Linked DNA regions of Homo sapiens: region 1 is linked to region 2. Evidence: promoter capture Hi-C in human tissues and cell types (Jung and others, 2019). All regions are on one chromosome and are shown on one strand. Each heading gives the region's core, a stretch centred on a gene start or on the middle of the fragment in contact. The rest is flanking DNA. Distances are from core to core; before and after follow the strand shown. Region 1 holds the start of OR52R1 (olfactory receptor family 52 subfamily R member 1). Region 2 holds the start of OR51D1 (olfactory receptor family 51 subfamily D member 1).

The links. Contacts are between HindIII fragments. The study calls those that stand out against the background at their distance.
Region 1: the fragment with the promoter of OR52R1 here is called in contact with the fragment with the promoter of OR51D1 in region 2 in 1 of the 25 tissues and cell types used here (ovary).

Annotation. Positions count from the first base shown.
Region 1 is chr11:4,801,954-4,807,262 of GRCh38, reverse strand. It overlaps OR52R1 (olfactory receptor family 52 subfamily R member 1), which reads left to right and starts at 2,883. Exons shown (of 1, transcript NM_001005177.3): 1 at 2,883-3,830. The coding sequence starts at 2,883. The coding sequence ends at 3,830. All of the region lies in intron 2 of MMP26 (matrix metallopeptidase 26), which reads right to left. The HindIII fragment of the contact is 16,304 bases long and covers 1-5,309 here.
Region 2 is chr11:4,634,735-4,640,164 of GRCh38, reverse strand. OR51D1 (olfactory receptor family 51 subfamily D member 1) reads right to left here and starts at 2,688. Exons shown (of 2, transcript NM_001004751.3): 1 at 2,412-2,688; 2 at 1-388. The coding sequence starts at 374. The HindIII fragment of the contact is 12,772 bases long and covers 1-4,349 here.

The DNA.
Region 1 (5,309 bases), core at 1,634-4,133, 170 kb before region 2:
ATGGAAGGCAGTGTGACAATTCCTTAAGGATCTAGAACTAGAAATACCATTTGACCCAGCGATCCCATTACTGGGTATTTACCCAAAGGTTTATAAATCATGCTACTCTAAAGACACATGCACACGTAAGTTTATTAAAAAAAATTGTTTAAGTCTATAGTGCTAAGTCTCCAAAAATAACAATTATTTATTTATTTATTTTTTAAATTTTACTTTAAGTTCCGGGATTTGGCCAGCACCCCTTATATTGCCTCGTACAGCAATGAGGATGGTCTGGGTATGCATTTCAAGGTACCCCTGAAGCTGGGGGACTGTCCCCACGACAATTTGAGGGTGATATACAGGGGCAAGTGACAGAAAGACTTCGGCTCAAACAGAATATACAAAACAGCTTGGAAAGTCTGGGACAGGCAAAGGGGGACAGAGATATAGGTGGACCCCGGATATAGGTGGTTTTGAATTTTTACCATACTCTACATACAAGTATTTGTTTTGAGCAAACCTATATCTTATTCTCTGGCAGGATGGTCAAGATTCCAGTTTAAATCTAGACTTATAAAGTCTGAGCCCTATTTCTCCCAGTCTGTTATAAATCTTGAGAGATTTATCAGTGTGCTGTATTCAGGAGACCCATCTCACGTGCAGAGACACACATAGGCTCAAAATAAAGGGATGGAGGAAGATTTACCAAGCAAATGGAAAACCAAAAAAGGCAGAGATTGCAATCCTAGTCTCTGATAAAACAGACTTTAAACCAACAAAGATCAAAAGAGACAAAGAAGCCCATTACATAATGGTAAAGGGATCAATTCAACAAGAAGAGCTAACTATCCTAAATATATATGCACCCAATACAGGAGCACCCAGATTCATAAAGCAAGTCCGTAGAGACCTACAAAGAGACTTAGACTCCCACACAATAATAACGGGAGACTTTAACACCCCACTGTCAACATTAGACAGACCAACGAGACAGAAAGTTAACAAGGATACCCAGGAATTGAACTCAGCTCTGCACCAAGCGGACCTAACAGACATCTACAGAACTCTCCACCGCAAATCAACAGAATATACACTCTTCTCAGCACCACATCGCACTTATTCCAAAATCGACCACATAGTTGGAATTAAAGCACTCCTCAGCAAATGTAAGAGAAATTTAGGAAAAGATAAGGCCTTTGGGGGATCTTGAAGAAATTCTTTTCAGGATTTTTTTTTTTCTAGTGAATGAGACATGTATTAGTTCCAAGAGGTGATGGGTATTTAAATGCATACTTTTCTTGCCCAGGTGTTTCTCTTTTGAAGGTGGTAAGAACTGAGGCTTTCAAACAAAGCACAGGCAACTGAGTTTAGTGAAAAAGTGTTGGGTAAGAACAAAATGAGCTTTGTGCCATCGATTCTGAGATTGATAGTGATCACCAAAAAACTCAAAGAGTGGAATAAACTCAGGTAAGATGAATAGAGACAGACAGTGGGGCTCACACAGTATCTACTGTAGCAGGGCAACCTCTATGGCCTCAAGGTAGTCAATAGGGCTCTGTCTGGGTATTTAGAATATTGTTAATCAGTTAATGAGTCTGCTGCCTTTGAATAATGACATTTATTTGCTACTTTCCTCAGGAATATTTTATTAAATTCCTACTCTGCACCAAGCACAGAGATGCTAGAGATAGTGTGGGGTTCACAGCTGACTTCATGAAAAATTCCTCTTCTAGGACAGAGGTTGGCAAACTATAGCCTGGAAACCAACACCTGCTTGCAACCCATTTTTGTAAACAAAGGTTTATTGGAACACACCACACTCACACATTTATGTGTTGACTATGGTTACTTTCACACTACAATGGCTGAATTGATCTGCTGCAACAGACAGTATAGGCCACAATTTCTCAAAATTTTGTGATCTCACTTTTTAAAGAAAAAAAGTTTGCTAACTTCTTGTCTAGGAGAAACCTACACTAAAGATAATAAATTAAATTATAAATGTACAATTGGTCAGTAGATTAACTTCCCACCCAAGCCCTTGTGGTAACTGACCTAGATTCAAAGCTAACTTCAAAGCAATACATAAATTGCTATAGGCTTGCAAACTCTACTGACTTCCTACTCTGAGAAATTGGCCAAGTGGCTAACCAGAGGTTTAAAAAGGACCTGTGGAAAAGTTTAAGCTAATCAGCTGTTAGTTCTATAGAACTGAAGAGCAAGAATTACTATAATATTACTTGTCATGATGATTTTCCCTTAGCAGATGCTACTTTCAAGAAAAATATTGATTCATTTTTTTTTTTTTTTTTTGAGGCGGTTTCGCTCTGACACCCAGGCTGGAGTGCAGTGGTGTGAGCTCAGCTCACTGCAACGTCCAACTCCTGGGTTCAAGTGATTTTCCTTCCTCAGCCTCCTGAGTAGCTGGGACTATAGGCGTGCTCTACCATGCCTGGCTAATGGGGTTTTTTTTTGTTTTGTTTTGTTTTTGTATTTTTAATAGAAAAGGGGTTCCACTATGTCAGCCAGGCTGGTCTTGAACTCCTGACCTCAAGCAATCTGCCTGCCTCAGCCTCCCAAAGTGCTAGGATTATAGGTGTAAGCCACCACACCTGGTCAAGAAAAATATTGATTCTTAAAAAACAGTTACACATGCAACTAGTATGTTCTACCCCATTTTGAATGACATAAGTACGAAAAACAACAGTAACATCATGTCATGTTGTAACATATTATTTATTAAAACAGTTGAAATTATTCTAGTTTATAATCAAACCCAATCACCCTGGTATCCAATAGTCCCATCCAAAAGCCTTGTATATAATAATAACACTTGTTTTGATTGTTATCATCTGCAGAGAGTAGATTGCGTTCCCAGCAGAGACCATATTAACCAGTCCATGGTGCTGGCTTCAGGGAACAGCTCTTCTCATCCTGTGTCCTTCATCCTGCTTGGAATCCCAGGCCTGGAGAGTTTCCAGTTGTGGATTGCCTTTCCGTTCTGTGCCACGTATGCTGTGGCTGTTGTTGGAAATATCACTCTCCTCCATGTAATCAGAATTGACCACACCCTGCATGAGCCCATGTACCTCTTTCTGGCCATGCTGGCCATCACTGACCTGGTCCTCTCCTCCTCCACTCAACCTAAGATGTTGGCCATATTCTGGTTTCATGCTCATGAGATTCAGTACCATGCCTGCCTCATCCAGGTGTTCTTCATCCATGCCTTTTCTTCTGTGGAGTCTGGGGTGCTCATGGCTATGGCCCTGGACTGCTACGTGGCTATCTGCTTCCCACTCCGACACTCTAGCATCCTGACCCCATCGGTCGTGATCAAACTGGGGACCATCGTGATGCTGAGAGGGCTGCTGTGGGTGAGCCCCTTCTGCTTCATGGTGTCTAGGATGCCCTTCTGCCAACACCAAGCCATTCCCCAGTCATACTGTGAGCACATGGCTGTGCTGAAGTTGGTGTGTGCTGATACAAGCATAAGTCGTGGGAATGGGCTCTTTGTGGCCTTCTCTGTGGCTGGCTTTGATATGATTGTCATTGGTATGTCATACGTGATGATTTTGAGAGCTGTGCTTCAGTTGCCCTCAGGTGAAGCCCGCCTCAAAGCTTTTAGCACACGTTCCTCCCATATCTGTGTCATCTTGGCTCTTTATATCCCAGCCCTTTTTTCTTTCCTCACCTACCGCTTTGGCCATGATGTGCCCCGAGTTGTACACATCCTGTTTGCTAATCTCTATCTACTGATACCTCCCATGCTCAACCCCATCATTTATGGAGTTAGAACCAAACAGATCGGGGACAGGGTTATCCAAGGATGTTGTGGAAACATCCCCTGAGCAAAGGGTCAGTGTATCCCCATCACTTACATTGCCCCACTAATGTGGGGACATTAATGAACATTTGACAGGCTATTACTTATTATCACTAAGTCAGCTCTGTAAATAACTGGCTCAGAGGTAAGCAACCCTCTAGAGGCAAGAGAAACAATTTTCAGGGTACCTAGAAAAGAGATACCTGAGAGATGTGATGGATAAGAACAACTTTGTTGACTACATATTCATCATCACATGGAAACAATAAAAGTAGTTTTACCTATTAAATCAGTGAATATTTTAAAAGAATGTCATCTCCCACAGATGATTAAGGTAAAAAAGTTGTTTTTACACTGTCAGTAGAAGTAGGTACACTTTGCTTAAAAGAAATTTAGAAATTTACATCAAATAATTTAAAAGTACATATATTTCTTCATCTGAGAATATGTTTATAAAAATAAAGTGCATATGTACAAAGACATGCATAAAATCATGCCTTATAAAAACAAAATATAAAATGATTCAAATATTGTCCTATAAGATTACAGATGAAGCAATACTCTGTTGAATATCAGGTGCCATTTAACTATTTTATTTGAAAGGACTATCTGAAAATTTGACAAATAAGCAAGATATAATCTTAAATTGAAAAGAAAAACTATCGCCCATAAGGCTTGGTACCAATTCTATACTGGAATACGTACGTAAAGAAAGGAATTCAGGAAATATATCCAAATGATAAAAAATAGCTGCTTGGAGTAGTGATGCTTATGGCATTTTCATTATATTTTTATACTTTAGTGTATTTTTAAATTTAATTTAATTATGTTTTTATTGATAAAAATGATTTTACATATTTATGTGATACAGTGTGATGTTCACCTAGTACTTATCACAAGATGGCTTTTGCAGGTCCAGGTCCATTTTTATCTCATTTCTCCAAAATTGAATACAATACCATACCTCTCAGTCCCAAGGACTTCTTTTATCACCCTACATAATTAAAATTGTAAAGGATATTGTCAGATAAGATAAATTTGTTATACAGATAGCAAATTGTCCTCCAGTCACTTTTTTAATGAAAAATAAAATATTTGTAACATTTTAAATTTCTATTCAAGTAATATATTGAGCAATTACTCTTCACCTAGCATTCTGCCAAAAGGTGGGGATAGAATAGGGAACAAAAGAAACTGACAAACAGAACATCTAATTTGCATGATTTCCACCCAAAATCAAAACAATGAATACCTGCAATTCCAGCCCAAATATAGACATTAATTAGTTAAGCTGTATTACTCTATCATGATTGTAAGTAAACTTAAATATTCTGAACCAATGAAAATAGATGACTAACTTCATTATAACATGAAGAATCCTTATGTCCAAAATATAAAGCATATGACTAACTCAAATGTGCCTGTAGTTGATATGATTTGGACCTGGCTCCCCTCCAAATCTGTTGAAATGTGATTCCCAGTGTTGGAGGTGGGGCCTAGTGGG
Region 2 (5,430 bases), core at 1,439-3,938:
GACTCCACGGCTGACAGAGCATGGATAAGGAACATCTGGGCCAGGCAAATGTTGAACTCGATCTCCTGGATGCCCATCAGGAAAAGACTGGCCATCTTGGGCATGGTGATAGAGGAGAGGACTAGGTCAATAGTGGAAAGCATGGCCAGGAAGAGGTACATGGGCTCATGCAGTCGCCTCTCCACACGAATGATGAGGACAATGGTCAGGTTACCCAGGGTGGCCAAGGCATACATAAAACACAGTGGGAAAGCCAGCCAAAAGTGTATGGTAGGCCCCAGGCCAGGGATACCCACCAAAAGGAAGTATGCTGCGTGGACCAGATTTCCATTTGAAGTGGCTATGATAGGGACCAAGAGCTGGGGCTTCTGCATACAAAATCCAGGGTCTAGGAAAGTAGAAAGGGAAAAGTAGAAACATCATTTAGTTGTGGCTCAGAGGAGAGAAAGGACTAATGAGGAAAAGGCATTGGAGTGGTGACAGTAACAAACAGGACTAAGTCATCCTGGTAATTCTGAACCCTAGTCTCTCTCTGCTCTGATTCTCCTTATATACAACTTCCTGGACATCTTGAGCCTTACCCTGACCCTCCAAGGCCCCAGTGCTGCACAAGCAGATTCTATTACTGTCCCATGAATCTCAGTGTGTGAAGACCCACTCATAAAACATGTAACACAGTCCTGCATCTTCAGAGCTGATGTTGCTGCCCAGGGCACTGCTCTTAGCCTTTTCCCATCAGAGTAGACTTGCAGGATTGCTCAGAATGGTCCACATTGACCAGCTCTTCTGATGTATCCTGGGGTTAGGGTGGGTCTGGGTTCAGATTTAGAGGCTCAGTCTACAGCTGACTTTAAGACCTACTATAATCTAATTTAAGATAGGGAGCAGGGGCTCAGTCTGGGATGAGATTTCAAGAGAGGTTTGTGTTTAGGCCTGAATACCATTTCTCAAACTTTCCTGATAGAAACATCTAAAGTAATTGACAACACCATCCCTCCAGGTCCTGCTCCAGGCCCAGAAAATCAGAATTGCCAGGGCAAGGTTTTGGAAATCTTTTTAAAAAACAATAAGCCCCGCCAGGTACAGTGGCTCACGCCTGTAATCCCAGCACTTTGGGAGGCCGAGGTGGGCAGATCGCAAGGTCAGGGGTTCGAGACCAGCCAGGCCAACATGGTGAAACCCTGCCTCTATTAAAAATGCAAAAGTTAGCCAGGCTTGGTGGAGCGCACCTGTAATCCCAGCTACTCAGGAGGCTGAGGCAGGAGAATCATTTGAACCTGGGCGGCAGAGGCTGCAGTGAGACGAGATCACCCCCACTGCATTCCAGCCTGGGTGACACAGCGAGACACCAACTCAAAAACAAAACAAAACAAATAAACAAACAAAAAACGATAAGCCCCTTTCCCCTAGGAAATTTGTGCTTTAAATCAGAGAACTTTGGGGAAAGTTGTTCTGGTGTTCTTGGGGGCAGGGAGGTGAATGAAGAGGGACTATCATTTCCATTTCCAGCTCCCAAACGAACAATAAGCAGCATCTGCCATCAAGATCTCTCAAGCCCCAGGTGAGAGTCAGTCCCAGGTTGCGCTCAGCAAGAGGAGCATGTCATGGAAATCAGATGCAGCTGAGACATGAACAGAAAATCAGCCAGTGCTGCTGCTGTTACTCCACAGTGTTCACAGGCACACACACCTCTCCCTCCACCTACTCTCCCTGGTGATCACACAACGTCCCAGGCTCAACTTCTTTCTCTCTACAGACCACACTGTTCTAAGCCTGTGTCCTGAGATTCAGCCATATAACCTACCGCCTCCTTGATAGTTCTACCTGGATAGCCTATGGGCCTCCCACTCATCTTGCCTCTAACAGGGACCCCTTCCAAACCTGTTCCTGATCTCAGAGAATGCCACTGCTCAGAACCCACATCACCCAAGTCAGGGCAGCTGGTCTCATCTTGACCCGTCTCCTCTTTCACCCCCACATGCAATTCAACTTTTCCAATTAATTATTGGGGCCGTTCCTCTTAATACACCTCCTCCCAACTTAATTATATTATCCACTCTGCCCTGATTATAAAAAGAGCCTTCCAACTTACCTCCCTGCCTCCAAACCTAGTCTATTCCAAACCACCTTCCACACCACTGCCATCTAAACAGCAAAACTGGACACCTGGGGCTCCTGCTGAGCAAGTTAGGAGTGATTCCCATAGCTTTCCAGATAAAGTGAGAACTAGTAACTCCACAGTATGCAGACAAGGCCCTTCACAGTGTTCCTCTAACTCAACTTTCCAGCCCAGCTTCAGTTTCCTTCTTCATCACCAATCACCACCAGCACCACCACAACACACACGTGCACATACACACACACGTACACACTCACACACATTTTTTTCCTGGTAAAGTAATTCCCCTTGCCTTGCTTAAGTGAAGAGTAGGAGGCAGGAACTGAGGAGTCCTGTCCTGGGACAAAGGATAGGCAAAGCTTGGAACGGGTCTCACAGGCTTGAAGAAATTCCTCTGTGTAGGAACAAGGTCCAGGAACCGGGCTACTGTGATCTGGAAAAGGTGTACACTAGAAGACCTCTCCAAGCAGCCAAGCTGACTGATCAAGTCCCGGCTTCCTTATGCAATGAGCCTTCTGTGCCTGTCTCTGCGGACCCTCCCGTTGCCTAACCTCCCTGGGCTGAGCCTGCTACACTCACCACCAGTGCTTCCCCAGCGCATGGAGGCCGCCCAATTATAGCTTCTCTGGGGCCCCTCAGGAGTGTGTAGAGTGATGGAGAGTGAACGAGTCGGGTCTCCCTGGCACTGACGCTCTGCTCAGACGCCCAAGGAAAGCTGAGCCCTGACTCCTACCCAAAGGGACTGAGCTCTATCACTATCCCTCTGAGCCCAGCTCAAGAGACTAGAGGGAGGCTGTGTCGCGGGGTGGAAAGGAGAAGAGGAATAACGGGGCTGGAAGAGAGGACCTGCTGGAATGGAGGGGTGGGCACTCAGCAGAAAGCACGCAGGGATACCAGCGCTCCGAACACACTAACTACCCAAGGGGATCGAAGCTGTGTCAGGGACTCTCGCTTCTTCATGCTGCCACCTTGTGGTCGCACAGGGGATCTTCAGCCTCGTGGCCGTCCCTGAGCAATGGCTCTGAGGATGATGCCTTTAAGAACCAAGGACCCAACTGACTCTAGCATCTGAGCTCTTTCCACTACTCTGCGCTGCCCCTTAGCTCTCCCTCTCACCCTCTCAAGCCCACCCTTTCTTCCTTGGGTCGCTAATCATAGATGTCCTGTCCCTCCAGAAATGAGACCGTGTGGCATGTTTGTTTGAACATGGGGCTCTAGAAGGAAACAGACTTGGGTCCGCCCATTTATTAATAGTATGACTACTATAAGCATTTAGTGTGAAAGCATTTAATGTGAAAAACGAAATGAGATACTAGCAAGTCTCCAGTGAATGTTTGTGTTCATTATTACTAGTCAAAACAAATGGAAGAGCCAAGGACGTAGGAAATCCAGTAGACAGTGCCACAAAAGAGACAGGAAAAAATATATTGACAAGGAAGATTGGTCAGCAGTTCAGAAAGCTGCCGAGAGATCAAGCAGTGAAAAGACTGAAATCAAAGGTCACTGGCTACCTGGATAACAGGGTGGGGGATGGAATCTTGAGTGAAGCAGTGTGAGGAGTGTGTTAGGAAGAGATGAAGAGAGTCGATGTAGACAACCCTTTTAAGATATTTGTACGTGAACAGAGGAGTGAAATGGACAATATTGGGAGGATTTATAGCTCCACAGAGATTTTAAAATGTGTATTTTGGAACTAGAAGAGACTAAATGTCAACAGGATGGAGTTGGCAGAGAGACTCCTTGTCCTTTACTCCTCACATTACTGGTAGCTATGGCCCAGGAAGATAATCTGTCTTCCCCCTCTATATAGTAACTATGAGTAATCTTACTTTGTCCAGTAGCTTTCATCACCCAAGCAGGCCAGACCAATCTCCTAAACTCCAAATATGGTAAAGTCTATTGGACATAGGTGTCCTTCAGGCACCTCAAACTCAACACCTAACTCATCATTTCTAAGCTCATTGATTTCATTATCAACTAAGCTCATCATCTCTGCTCTTCAATCCGGACCCCGCTCCCTGTCTGTTTTATGTTCCCTGTCATATAAATCACTCTGTTGGCCATGTCAAAAATTTAGAAATCATCATCCCTGCCTTCTCCCCATCTCTCTCTCACCTTCCTCTCCAACCACATCCAATCAGTCACCAAGTTCTGTTCATTTTATCTACTAGATATCTATTTTGTGAGTCTGATTATCTTTCTCCATCTTTTTTGCCTTTTCTTCATTCCAAGCCAAGACAGTCTTTTGCCTAGATCATCAGAATAACTTGTTCACTGGTCAGACTCACAGAAGAACTTCCCTACCAATCTGTTGTCTATGCTGTGGCCAGTGTGATCTTCCAAACACATATCAGTTCATGGCAATTCTCCATTGCCTTTAGAATGAACAGTTGAATTCCCCATTGCCTGTAGAATGAACACACTCCTGAACCCAACTCATAGGAACTCCATAAGCCATCTCAGTGCAACTCTCCATCTCCATCTCCAACCATTTTACCTCCCTTTTTGCATACATAAGTCCTATTGGACCCGAAATATTTCCACATCTTCAATGTGCCATGCTCTCTCTCACCCTTCAGCCTTCACATATATTTTTCCCCTGGTAAAAACACTCATCCTATTCCCAGTTTTAATTCTTAGCCTTTTCTGTTTAAACACCCTTGCTTAGAAAGACTTTTCTTGACCCCTAATCTTGGCGGGACCTCTTTACCCTTTTTCTCTTTGTTTTACTGATAGCATTTAACGTTGTGATATTATTTTTCATACTTATGAACATATCTTCGTATCTTTGTAGGGAGGGTGGACACTAATGTGTATGTATAAAAGGAAACGTGAACAGAGTCCTCTTCTATCCACTCTTAAGGCAGAAATTATTGGTCTTGTTGATCTGCACTCATACCTCACAACTCTATGACTTCAACTGAGGCATGTTTAATGGGCAGGCCGCTTAAATTATTATTAATATTAATAACATTATGTACCTAGTTGGCGTAATTTCCACAGGCACTTTTCAAGCATTCATTTTTTTTTCTCTTTTTACAGTATTAAGAATAGATCTTATTAAGGTGACCCAAAGTATGACTTTAAAAATAATAGTTTTCCCTCTACTTATATTTCAATATTTTTTGAAGGAAAGAAGGGAGGAAAAATCACTCAATGTAAATGGAATGCTAAAGGTCCAATGGATAACGGAGAGCTTTGGCCAAACATATACTCATGGCTTAGGAGGTCCTAAAAGATATGAACTTGCCTAATTCGACAGCCCCATCTCATGACACCTCAACTCTCCCTCAATACGGCCCTGCATTGGC